Regions from separate parts of the Homo sapiens genome. Here regions 1, 3 and 4 are each linked to region 2. The links are contacts of gene promoters, found by promoter capture Hi-C in human tissues and cell types (Jung and others, 2019). All regions are on one chromosome and are shown on one strand. Each heading gives the region's core, a stretch centred on a gene start or on the middle of the fragment in contact. The rest is flanking DNA. Distances are from core to core; before and after follow the strand shown. Region 1 has its middle 39 kb from the start of TBC1D19. Region 2 holds the start of CCKAR (cholecystokinin A receptor). Region 3 has its middle 41 kb from the start of CCKAR. Region 4 has its middle 35 kb from the start of CCKAR.

Region 1 (2,700 bases), core at 74-2,573, 55 kb before region 2:
ATTGATGCAGTAATAAATAGCCTACCAACCAAAAAAAGCACAAGACCAGATGGATTTGCAGCTGAATTCTACCAGAGGTACAAAAAGGAGCTGGTATCATTTATTTTAAAACTGTTCCAAACAATTGAAAAGGTGGGACTTCTCCCTAACTCATTTTATGAGGTCAGCATCATCCTGATACCAAAACCTGGCAGAGAAACAGCAAAAAAAGAAAACTTCAGGTCAATGTCCCTGATGAACATCAATGCAAAAATCCTCGATAAAACACTGGCAATCCAAATCCAGCAGCACATCAGAAAGTTTATCCACCACGATCAAGTTGGCTTCATCCCTGGGATGCAAGGCTGGTTCAACATATGCAAATTAATTACCTAAACAGAACTAAAGACAAAAACCACATTATTATCTCAATAGACACAGAAAAGGCCTTTGATAAAATTCAATACCCCTTCATGTTAAAAAGTCTCAATAAACTCGATATTGATGGAACGTACCTCAAAATAATAAGAGTCATTTATGACAAACCCACAGACAATAACATACTCAATAGGCAAAATCTAGAAGCATTCCCCTGGAAAACTGGCACAAGTCAAGGATGCCCTGTCTCACCACTTCTATTCAACATAGTATTGGAAATTCTGGCCAGGGCAGTCAGGCAAGAAAAAGAAATAAAGCATATTCAAATAGGAAGAGAGGAAGTCAAACTGTCTCTGTTTGCAGACAACGTGATCCTATATCTAGAAAACCCCATCATCTCAGCCCCAAAGCATCATAAGATGATAAGCAACTTCAGCAGTCTCAGGACATAAAACCAATGTGCAAAAATCACAAGCATTCCTATACAATAATAGACAATCAGAAAGCCAAATCATGAATTAACTCCCATTCAGAATTGCTACAAAGAGAATACAATACCTAGGAATACAGCTAACAAGGGAAGTGAAGGACCTCTTCAAGGAGAACTACAAAACACTACTCAAGGAAATTAGAGAGGACACAAACAAATGGAAAAACATTCCATGCTCATGGATAGGAAGAATCAATATTGTGAAAACGGCCATACTGCCCAAAGTAATTTATAGATTCAATGCTATTCCCATTAAACTGCCATTAGCATTCTTCACAGAATTAGATAAAAAACTACTTTAAAATTCATATGGAACAAATAAAGAGCCCATATATCCAAGACAATCCTAAGCAAAAAGAACAAAACGGGAGGCATCACACCACCAGATTTCAAACTATACTCCAAGGCTACAGTAACCAAAACAGTATGGTACCAGTACAAAAACAGACACATAGACCAACATGGAACAGAATAGAGATTGCAGAAATAAGGTAGCACATCTACAGCCATCTGATCTTCTACAAACCTGACAAAAACAAGTAATGGGGAAAGGATTCCTTATTTAATAAATAGTGCTGGGATATGCATATGCAGAAAATCGAAACTGGACCCCTTCCTCACACCTTATACAAAAATTAACTCAAGATGGATTAAAGACTTAAATGTAAATCCCAAAACTATAAAAACCCTAGAAGAAAATTTGGGCAATACCATTGAGGACACAGGCACAGGTAAAAAATTTATGACAAAAATATCAAAAGCAATTCAACAAAAGCAAAAATTGACAAATGGGATCTAATTAAACTAAAGAGTTTTCTGCTCAGCAAAAGAAACTATCCTCAGAGTGAACAGACATCCTACAGAATGGGAGAAAATTTTTGCAATCTATCCGTTCGACAAAGGTCTAATATCCAGAATCTACAAGGATTGTAGATTAAACAAATTTGAAAAAAAAAAAAAAAACTACCTCATTAAAAAGTGGGCAAAAACCATGAACAGACACTTCTCAAAAGAAGACATTTATGTGGCCAAAAAACATGTGGAAAAAAGCTCAACATCACTGATCATTAGAGAAATGCAAATTAAAAATGCAATGATATACTATCTCATGCCAGTCAGAATGGCAATTATTAAAAAGTCAAGAAGAAACAGATGCTGGTGCAGCTGTAGAGGAAGAGAAATGCTTTTATACTGTTGGTTGGAATGTAAATTAGTTCAGCCATTATGGAAGACAGTGTGGTGATTCCTCAAAGATCTAGAAGCAGAAATAGCATTTGACCCAGCAATCCCATTACTAGGTATATATCCAAAAGAATATAAATCATTCTAGTATAAAGGTACATATACATGTATGTTCATTGCAGCACTGCTCACAATAGCAAAGACATGAAATCAACCCAAATGCCCATCAATGATAGACTGGATAAAGAAAACGTGGTACATACACACCATGGAATACTATGCAATCATAAAAAGGAATGAAATCATGTCCTTTGCAGGGACGTTGATGGAACCGGAAGCCATTATCCTCAGCAAACTAATGCAGGAACAGAAAACCAAACACCACATATTCTCACTTATAAGTGGGAGCTGAACAATGAGAACACATGGACACAGGGAGGGGAACAACATACACTGGGGCCTGTCAGGGTGGTGGAGGGAGGGACAGCATCAGGATAAATAGCTAATGCATGTGGGGCTTAATAACTGCATGATGGGTTGATAGGTGCAGCAAACCACTGGGGCACACATTTACCCATGTAACAAATCTGCACATTCTGCACATGTATCCTGGAACTTAAAGTTAAATGAAATTTTAAAAACAAAACAAAAAAACACTACGTAATGGGTGC
Region 2 (2,700 bases), core at 65-2,564:
GGCTTTCCAGCACCACAGAGCTTCATGGAACACCCAGGACCCTGAGATGGCCCCCCTCTCTGATCTCACGTCCTGCTGTTTGCCTCTCACTCACTCCTACTTCTATCTATTTGTACCTCAATGGGGCCACACTCATTCCCACCTCAGGGCCTTTGCACTTGCTGTTACCTCTGCTAAAAGTGCTCCTCCTTTTGCCTGGGAGAAGCTGTCTTGGGATCTTCACAAGACTTTGTCCTTCTTGTGGTTCAGTCTCAGATCACAGTCCCCTCCTTAAGAGACCTCTCCTGACTACCCCTTCTAAATCAGCAGCCCCAGGCCAGGTGCAGTGGCTCACGCCTGTAATGCCAACACTGGGAGGCCAAGGCAGGAGGATTGCTTGAGCTCAGGAGCTTGAGACCAGCCTGGGCAACATAGCGAGACCTCCTCTCTTCTAAAACTAAAAAAATCAGCTGGGCTTAGTGGTGTGTGCCTGTAGTCCCAGCTACTCAGGAGGCTAAGGTAGGAGGATTGCTTGAGCCAGGGAGCAAGGCTGCAGTGAGCCATGATCGCGCCACTCCACTGCAGCCTGGGGAACAGAGCAAGACCCTGTCCCCGCCCCCCAAAAAATCAGCCCCTAATCTGTTTGTATACATCACATCTCCCTGCTTTACTCCCTTTGTAGTACTTACTACCTGAAATAATTCTGCTCATTATTTGCTGACATGCTAGAAAAGTGCCTGGCAAATGATTGACTCTCAATGAAGATGTGCTGAATGCAAGGCTTCATGAATGAAGAGGAAATCTCACTAACGTCTTTTGTAATAAGGACCCAGGTACCTATGTTCAAAAGTGCCTCAATCCTAGTTAACAAGGGCAGAGACCACGAGAAACAACACTGTGTTTAGTAGCAACTTAACAACCAGCCAGCAGTTCTGTCCACACACACACCACCGGGCATGGTTCCAAAGCTAAAAAGGCACTAATTGCTTTTCTATAAGGAGGTAGAACACAGTCCCTCCGTGTTCTTTAGGCCTGATGGTCTGCATTATCGGATCTGTTACCGTGTTAATTGTTCCTGTCTCACACAGCCGGTTTGGGCTTTCTTCTGCATATGTCTGGGATGGTGACGGGTTCCTATATAGAGGAGTACTGGGGAAGCCTCTGTGTGTGTGTGTGTGTCCGTGCATATGTACACATGTGTGTAAAAAGCAGCCACACGCTGAGAATGGTTAACGGGTAGCCAGGCTGTCTGTACTCAGGGCCCTAAGACTGGCCCAGGAAAGGGCCGGGGGAGGTGGGGCGGGGTGAAGGTGGAGCGGGCTTGGCTTGTGCTCACTGCCTTTTCCACAACAGGAGTACAAATGCTGGAGTGAGTGAGGTGAACTCAAGTCGCCTTTAGGAATGGCTGAAAAAGCCCACACCTGGAAATCACTCCCTCCCTGCTCCTCCACGGCAGGTTGCATCTGCGAGACGCTTCGGTCATTAGAGGAATGAGCCGGGAGTGAGCAATTCACCAGCTCTCCAGCACTTGGTGGAAAGCAGCAGGCAAGGATGGATGTGGTTGACAGCCTTCTTGTGAATGGAAGCAACATCACTCCTCCCTGTGAACTCGGGCTCGAAAATGAGACGCTTTTCTGCTTGGATCAGCCCCGTCCTTCCAAAGGTAAGTGTCGGAAGCTGTTATTTTAATTCAGGAAACTATTGAGTTGTGGGAGAAATCAGCAAAGGCAAGGCTGATAAAAAATATATATAACCAAGTCATTGTGAGACAAGGCTAGATAAAGTCATATGTTCAGAAGTTTGGAGAAGAGATTAAAAAGCAGAATAGAGTCAAATATTCTTATTGTCCCCCATGGGGGAGTTGGGCATTCATGAATAGGACTTGGGGGAACAAAAGCAGGGGAGGAAAAGCTGAGTGAAGCAAGAGGGACTACAAGTGTCAAAGCCTGAACTTACAAGCACAGCAGAAAAGGTGTTGTCACCATGCAGCTGTTTTCTTTTCTTGGGGGGAAACCCAGCATGAAGTGATTAAAGTGAAATAATGCTTAGCAGCCAGGAAAGAAAGTGATCACTGTTCACTTGAGGAGCTTTGTTCTTAAGAAAAAGTGGTTCCCTGAGTGATCCTTTAACAAACCAACCTTCTAAAAAGAAAATAATTCAGTCTCTGCTTTCCTCAATTTGTTTCCGCAAAATGTTGCCAGGACAGGAATCGTGGGTCCAGTGATGTACACCCCGGTGGGGGGAAAATCGGCAGGAATTCACCCTTGGCTTCGGTTTTAGCATTCTGCTGTCATCACCTCCATCCCTCCGTCTTGCTCCTGTTTCTCTCTGCAGAGTGGCAGCCAGCGGTGCAGATTCTCTTGTACTCCTTGATATTCCTGCTCAGCGTGCTGGGAAACACGCTGGTCATCACCGTGCTGATTCGGAACAAGCGGATGCGGACGGTCACCAACATCTTCCTCCTCTCCCTGGCTGTCAGCGACCTCATGCTCTGTCTCTTCTGCATGCCGTTCAACCTCATCCCCAATCTGCTCAAGGATTTCATCTTCGGGAGCGCCGTTTGCAAGACCACCACCTACTTCATGGGTAAGTTGCTGCTGGTGACTCTTTCTGGAGCTTGCCCCAGACCCCACTCAGCCCCAGACCTTCCCAAACCTCTGACAATCACAGCAAAGGAGCCCTGCTGAGGGCTGAATCACAGAACATCAGGCTGTGCATGGC
Region 3 (2,700 bases), core at 183-2,682, 41 kb after region 2:
TCAAAGTGGGGTCTCTGAATTCGCATCAGCTCACCTGAAACTTCTTAAACAGTTTCTTGGGCTCTAATCCAGATATCCTGAATGAGAAACGCTGGGGAAGGGTAATCTGAGTTTTAACCCTCAGGTGATTCTGTTGCAGGGTCATGTTTGAGAACCGTCACCTAAGGCCAAGGAAGGAAAATAACTGGTGTCTGTGCATAGTCTCCATCTCACACACCAGGCATCACTGCTCATAATGCCCTTTAGTTAACCGCAGATGCAGCCTCTGAATCCTTGTTTTTAAGTTCTGGGATACATGTACAGAGCGTGCAGGTTTGTTACATAGGTATACATGTGCCATGGTGGTTTCCTCCACCTATCAACCCATCATCTAGGTTTTAAGCCCTGCATGCATTAGGTATTTGTCCTAATGTTCTCCCTCCCCTTGCCTCTGACCCTCCGACAGGCCCCATTGTGTGATGTTCCCCTCCCTGTGTCCATGTGTTTTCATTTTTCAACTCCCACTTACAAGTGAGAACACGCGATGTTTGGTTTTCTGTTCCTGTGTTAGTTTGCTGAGAATGGTCCTTCTTGACACACAGCACTCCTGACAACCATCACCACTACGGGCCACAGGGAGGCAATGGAGATAGTCATGTGTTAATCCACACAGAGAAAGAGTCACCTCCCTGGACTCAATTATCCATTCCGGGAGCAACTCCTGACATTTCTGCAGTCATGTTCAAGCCCAGAGCCTGGTACAGATCTGGGCCTGTTCCAAGAACTTGGTTTTCTTAACTGTGCCCTGTCTCCTTGAGTACTGGGCTTCCCTTGCAAAAGCAGGAGCAAAACTAAAACAAACATGGAATGGAGAGCAGCTCAACTGGGCGAGGCTGGGTTTGATCAGCAGCCGGGCTGTGGACCAGCTCAGAGGCCCTAGGTGAGTCTCAAGCCTCACCTGTAGCTCCCCCGTAACAATGAAAACCTGTGAGGTGTAAGGAGAGCAACAAAGGCTTTTGGAATCAAATTTTGGTTTCTATCCCAGTTCTGTCGCTTTTGAACTGTGGAATCTAAGGTAAATTACTTAAGGCATCATTTTCTAACCTGTAAAATAGAAATAATAACACCTGCTTCTCTGAGCGGTTTGGAAGATTAAATAAGATGATATATGTAAAGCCCCTGACTCAGTACCTAGTTTACGGGACAAGAATGATACATTTACTCCAGGAGGAACCCTCTGTCTTTTGTCCTCCACATCTCAATCAGTATCTTGAGTCAGTGAGTGGAAAAAAAAAATCAGCTAAAGTGGAATATTCATAAAACAGGAAATAGTATAAGTTTTAACTTAAACATATACATATTAATGATCTTTGATATAGGGCTAAGGCCTTTTCTTTGACAATGTGCCCAGTAATTTACATTCTCCATGATTTTTCTTGCAAAAATCTCATCCCAAATCTGTGACTTCTGGTTTGGGTTTATTATTATTATTTTTTATTTCAATAGCTTTTGGGGTACAAGTAGTTTTTGGTTACATGGATGAAGTGTGTAATGGTGAAGTTTGAGATTAGTGTACTCATCAGCTGAGTAGTATATATTGTACCCAATATGTAGTTTTTTTAGCCCTCACCCTCTTCCTAGCCTCCCTGCTTCTGTCTCCAATGTCCATTTTTCCACTCTGTCTACCTTTGCGTACCCATAGCTTAGCTCCCACTTATAAGTCAGAACATAGTTTTCCATTCCTGAGTTATTTTACTTAGAATAATGGCCTCCATCTCCACCCAAGTTGCTGCAAAATACATTATTTTATTCTTTTTTATGGCTGAGTAGTAGTCCATGGTGTATATACACCACATTATCCATTCATTGGGTGGTGGGCACTTAGATTGGTTCCTTATCAACTGTGAATTGTGATGCAATAAACGTATGTGTGCAGGTGTCTTTTGAATATAATGACTTCTTTAAACATATGTGTGCAGGTGTCTTTTGAATATAATGATTTGGTAGATACCCAGTAGTGGGATTCCTGGATCAAATGGTAGATCTACTTTTCGTTTTTAAAGAAACCTCCATACTGTTTTCCATAGAGGCTGTACTGATTTACATTCCCACCAGCAGTGGATAAGTGTTCCCTTTTCACCACATGCACACCAACATCTATTTTTTTTTATTTTTTATTTTTTAATAATGGCCATTCTGGCTGGGGTAAGCTGGTATCTCACTGTGGTTTTAGTGTGCATTTCCCTGATTTTGATGTTGAATATTTTCACATTTGTTGGCCATCTGTATTATCTTCTTTTGAGAAACGTCTACTCATGTCATTTGCCCACTTTTTGATGAGACTTTTTTTTTGTTCATTTGAGTTCCTTGAAGACTCTGGATATTAGTCCTTTGTCAGATGCATAGTTTGTGACAATTTTCTCCCATTCTGTGGGTTGTCTGTTTACCCTGTTGAGTATTTATTTATTTTGCTATGCAGAAGCTTTTTAGTTTAATTAGGTCCCATTTATTTATTTTTGTCTTTGTTGCATTTGCTTTTAGGGTCCTAGGTTTTCTTTTAGACTTTTTATGGTTTGGGGTCTTAGATTTAAGTTTTTTTATCCATCTTGAGTTGATTTTTGTATATGGTGACAGACAGGGATCCAGTTTCATTCTTCTACATGTAGCTATCCAGTTTTCCCAGCACCATTTATTGAATAGGGTGTCCTTTCCCTAGTTTAT
Region 4 (2,700 bases), core at 13-2,512, 35 kb before region 2:
TTGAAACCTATTAACAAACAAAAGAGATCAAAAGCCTTATTCCCATTTAACAGATGAAGTAAACAGAGGCATGGAAGGTTTAAGGCACAAGGAAATTGCCCAGTCTCACAAAGCTAGCACGTGGTGGGGCAGAGCTTTGCACCGAGGTAGTCTGGCTTCAGAGTCCAGGTACATAAACATTAGGTAAGCAGGCTCTCAAACAGCATCTAAATATATATATATATATGTGTGTGTGTATATATATATATATATATACGTATATATATGTGTGTGTATATATATATATACGTATATATATATGTGTGTGTATATATATATATATATGTATATATATATGTATATATATATGTATATATATGTGTATATATATATATATATGTATATATATATGTATATATATATGTATATATATGTGTATATATATATATGTATATATATATGTGTATATATATATATGTATATATATATGTGTATATATATATATTATTTTTTTTTTTTAAGAAGGAATTTCGCTCTTGTTGCCCAGGCTGTAGTGCAATGGTGTGATCTCGGCTCACTGCAACCTCTGCCTCCTGGGTTCAAGTGATTCTCCTGCCTCAGCCTCCCGATTAGCTGGGATTACAGGCATGCACCACCACGCCTGGGTAATTTTTTGCATTTTTAGTAGAGACGGGGTTTCTCCATGTTGGTCAGACTGATCTCGAATTCCTGACTTCAGGTGATCCACCGGCCTCGGCCTCCCAAAGTGCTGAGATTACAGGCGTGAGCCGCTGCATCTGGCCGCATCTAAATATTATCTGGGCATTGCATTTATAGAGAATGAAGAGTTTGAGAAACCCAGGTATATAAGGTATATGAAACTCTTGTTTAAGTCTTGAAGATTGATTACCTGAAAAGTAAAGGATGAGAAGAGGCACAGGGAACAAGGCAAGGTGGAAAGAATTCAAGCACAGGCATTAGAGGGACCTGGGTGTGAATCTCAGTGCTGCCACCTCTAAGCTGCCTTACTTTGGAAACAGCACTTCACATGTCTAAGCCTCAGTTTGTTCATCTGCCAAATGAGCATAGCAATGCCTGTCTTGGAGGGTTGCTGGCAGGATGAAACACGACATCGATGGCTGTGCCCTGTGCTTTGCCTTCTTGTCCTTTGGCCCCCAGGTAACCATGTGCAGCCATTGTGTCCACTTGCCCTCCACTCACCCATGTTTTAGTCACTTCTTAGTCATCACCTTTTAGTTTTCCCCGAAGAATACACTTGCACAGAAGCATTTGTAAGTAATATAGACTATACTGAGGATTGTGTAGAAGAGATGAGGAGGAACTTTACCTATCCCCCACCACAGCAACGACTTAGTGTTTCTTTCCCTAACTCCCCTTCTCTGCTAACCTGCTACAGAAGGGGATGGAGTGCGTGGGCAGTTTAAACTTAAAATCTATTTCTTTTTCTTTCTCTCCCTTAACTTTCCCCCAACTCTACACACTTTCAGCTTTCAGACTCCTCCTTCTCCCTCCAAGATCTTTCACCCCAAGCAACTCCATCAAACCATATTGCTTTGGCGCTAAGCCTGCTCTGAATTCTACACTCATATATGCATATTTGACACACTACTTAGCAAACAAAGGGTTCTCTAGTTATTTTATCAGGGCCCATTATCTTGGTTACTATTGCTGCATTAAAAAAACACACACACACACACAAAATGTAGGGGCTCCACATAACAAGAAGCCTTTATTGTCTTTCTCACAGTCCTTTGGGTGGGCTGGGGCTCAGCCTGGTGGTTCCTTGGTTGCACATGGGGTAAGCTGGTGTTACAGTCATTGGGAAGCTGGAATGTCTGAGATGGCTGACTCGCATGGCTGGCAGTTGGAGTTGGTTCTCTGCTGAAAGCTGAACTGGAGCAACTTAGTTCTCCATGTGGTCTCTCCAATTGATTGGGCTTTTCATAGCATGGCAACTGGGTTCCATGAAGGAGCATTCCAAGCACTTGAAAACAGAACTTGCTACTCTCTTAAGGCCCAGGTTTGAAAGTTCTACAGTAAAAAGTTTCCACCACTTTGTATTGGTCAAAGCAAAGACCAGCTTAAATTTAAGAGGAAGAGGGGCAAAGTATTTGTACGATCTTCAATCCACCACACCCATCATCTTGAAAAAGGGGCTCATGCCTGTAATCCTAGCTACCCAGAAGGCTGAGGCAGGAGGATTGCTTGAACCCAGGAGTTTGAGACCAGCCTAGGCAAAAGCAAGATCCCATCTCTAAAGAAAAGAAAAGGGTTATAAATAACAAAATTATTTTTCTGTTACCCATCAAAGTACTTAGCATATAAATGCAATAATGAGATTTTCTGACTTTTACTGTTTTGTGGGTTGAAACATGAACATTGAAAGGTTTACAGTGATGGGAAGGCAAAGAATGGAAAGTTCAGATTAAAAATAGACCTTAATTTTCATATCTGCATACAAGTGCCCTCTTTGGATAAATTTTAAATCACAAACCCCAAAACAATGAAGATCATGTTTTTCAGACAGCGCTTCTTTATCTGCTCCCCATCCATGGCCTATTTCTCATCTCTTCGCTCACCCTGGAGTGAGCCAGAGCAGGGATGCACCCAAGTCTGCACCGCCCGCTGGCTCGGTGCCCCCAGCATCACACTCATCAGCTCATCTCTGTACCAAGACCCTGATTTCCTCTTCTTCTTTTC

Evidence for each region. Contacts are between HindIII fragments. The study calls those that stand out against the background at their distance.
Region 1: a fragment that was not itself captured here is called in contact with the fragment with the promoter of CCKAR in region 2 in 3 of the 25 tissues and cell types used here (mesenchymal stem cells, neural progenitor cells and spleen).
Region 3: a fragment that was not itself captured here is called in contact with the fragment with the promoter of CCKAR in region 2 in 1 of the 25 tissues and cell types used here (pancreas).
Region 4: a contact is called between a fragment that was not itself captured here and the fragment with the promoter of CCKAR in region 2, in 6 of the 25 tissues and cell types used here (IMR-90 fibroblasts, aorta, lymphoblastoid cells and 3 more).

Annotation. Positions count from the first base shown.
Region 1 is chr4:26,543,777-26,546,476 of GRCh38, reverse strand. No RefSeq gene overlaps it. Among named protein-coding and RNA genes, the nearest start is that of TBC1D19, 39 kb to the left of the region's middle. The HindIII fragment of the contact is 7,536 bases long and covers 1-2,700 here.
Region 2 is chr4:26,489,098-26,491,797 of GRCh38, reverse strand. CCKAR (cholecystokinin A receptor) reads left to right here and starts at 1,314. Exons shown (of 5, transcript NM_000730.3): 1 at 1,314-1,642; 2 at 2,314-2,565. The coding sequence starts at 1,531. The HindIII fragment of the contact is 14,703 bases long and covers 1-2,700 here.
Region 3 is chr4:26,448,545-26,451,244 of GRCh38, reverse strand. No RefSeq gene overlaps it. Among named protein-coding and RNA genes, the nearest start is that of CCKAR, 41 kb to the left of the region's middle. The HindIII fragment of the contact is 3,916 bases long and covers 1-2,700 here.
Region 4 is chr4:26,524,454-26,527,153 of GRCh38, reverse strand. No RefSeq gene overlaps it. Among named protein-coding and RNA genes, the nearest start is that of CCKAR, 35 kb to the right of the region's middle. The HindIII fragment of the contact is 4,585 bases long and covers 1-2,700 here.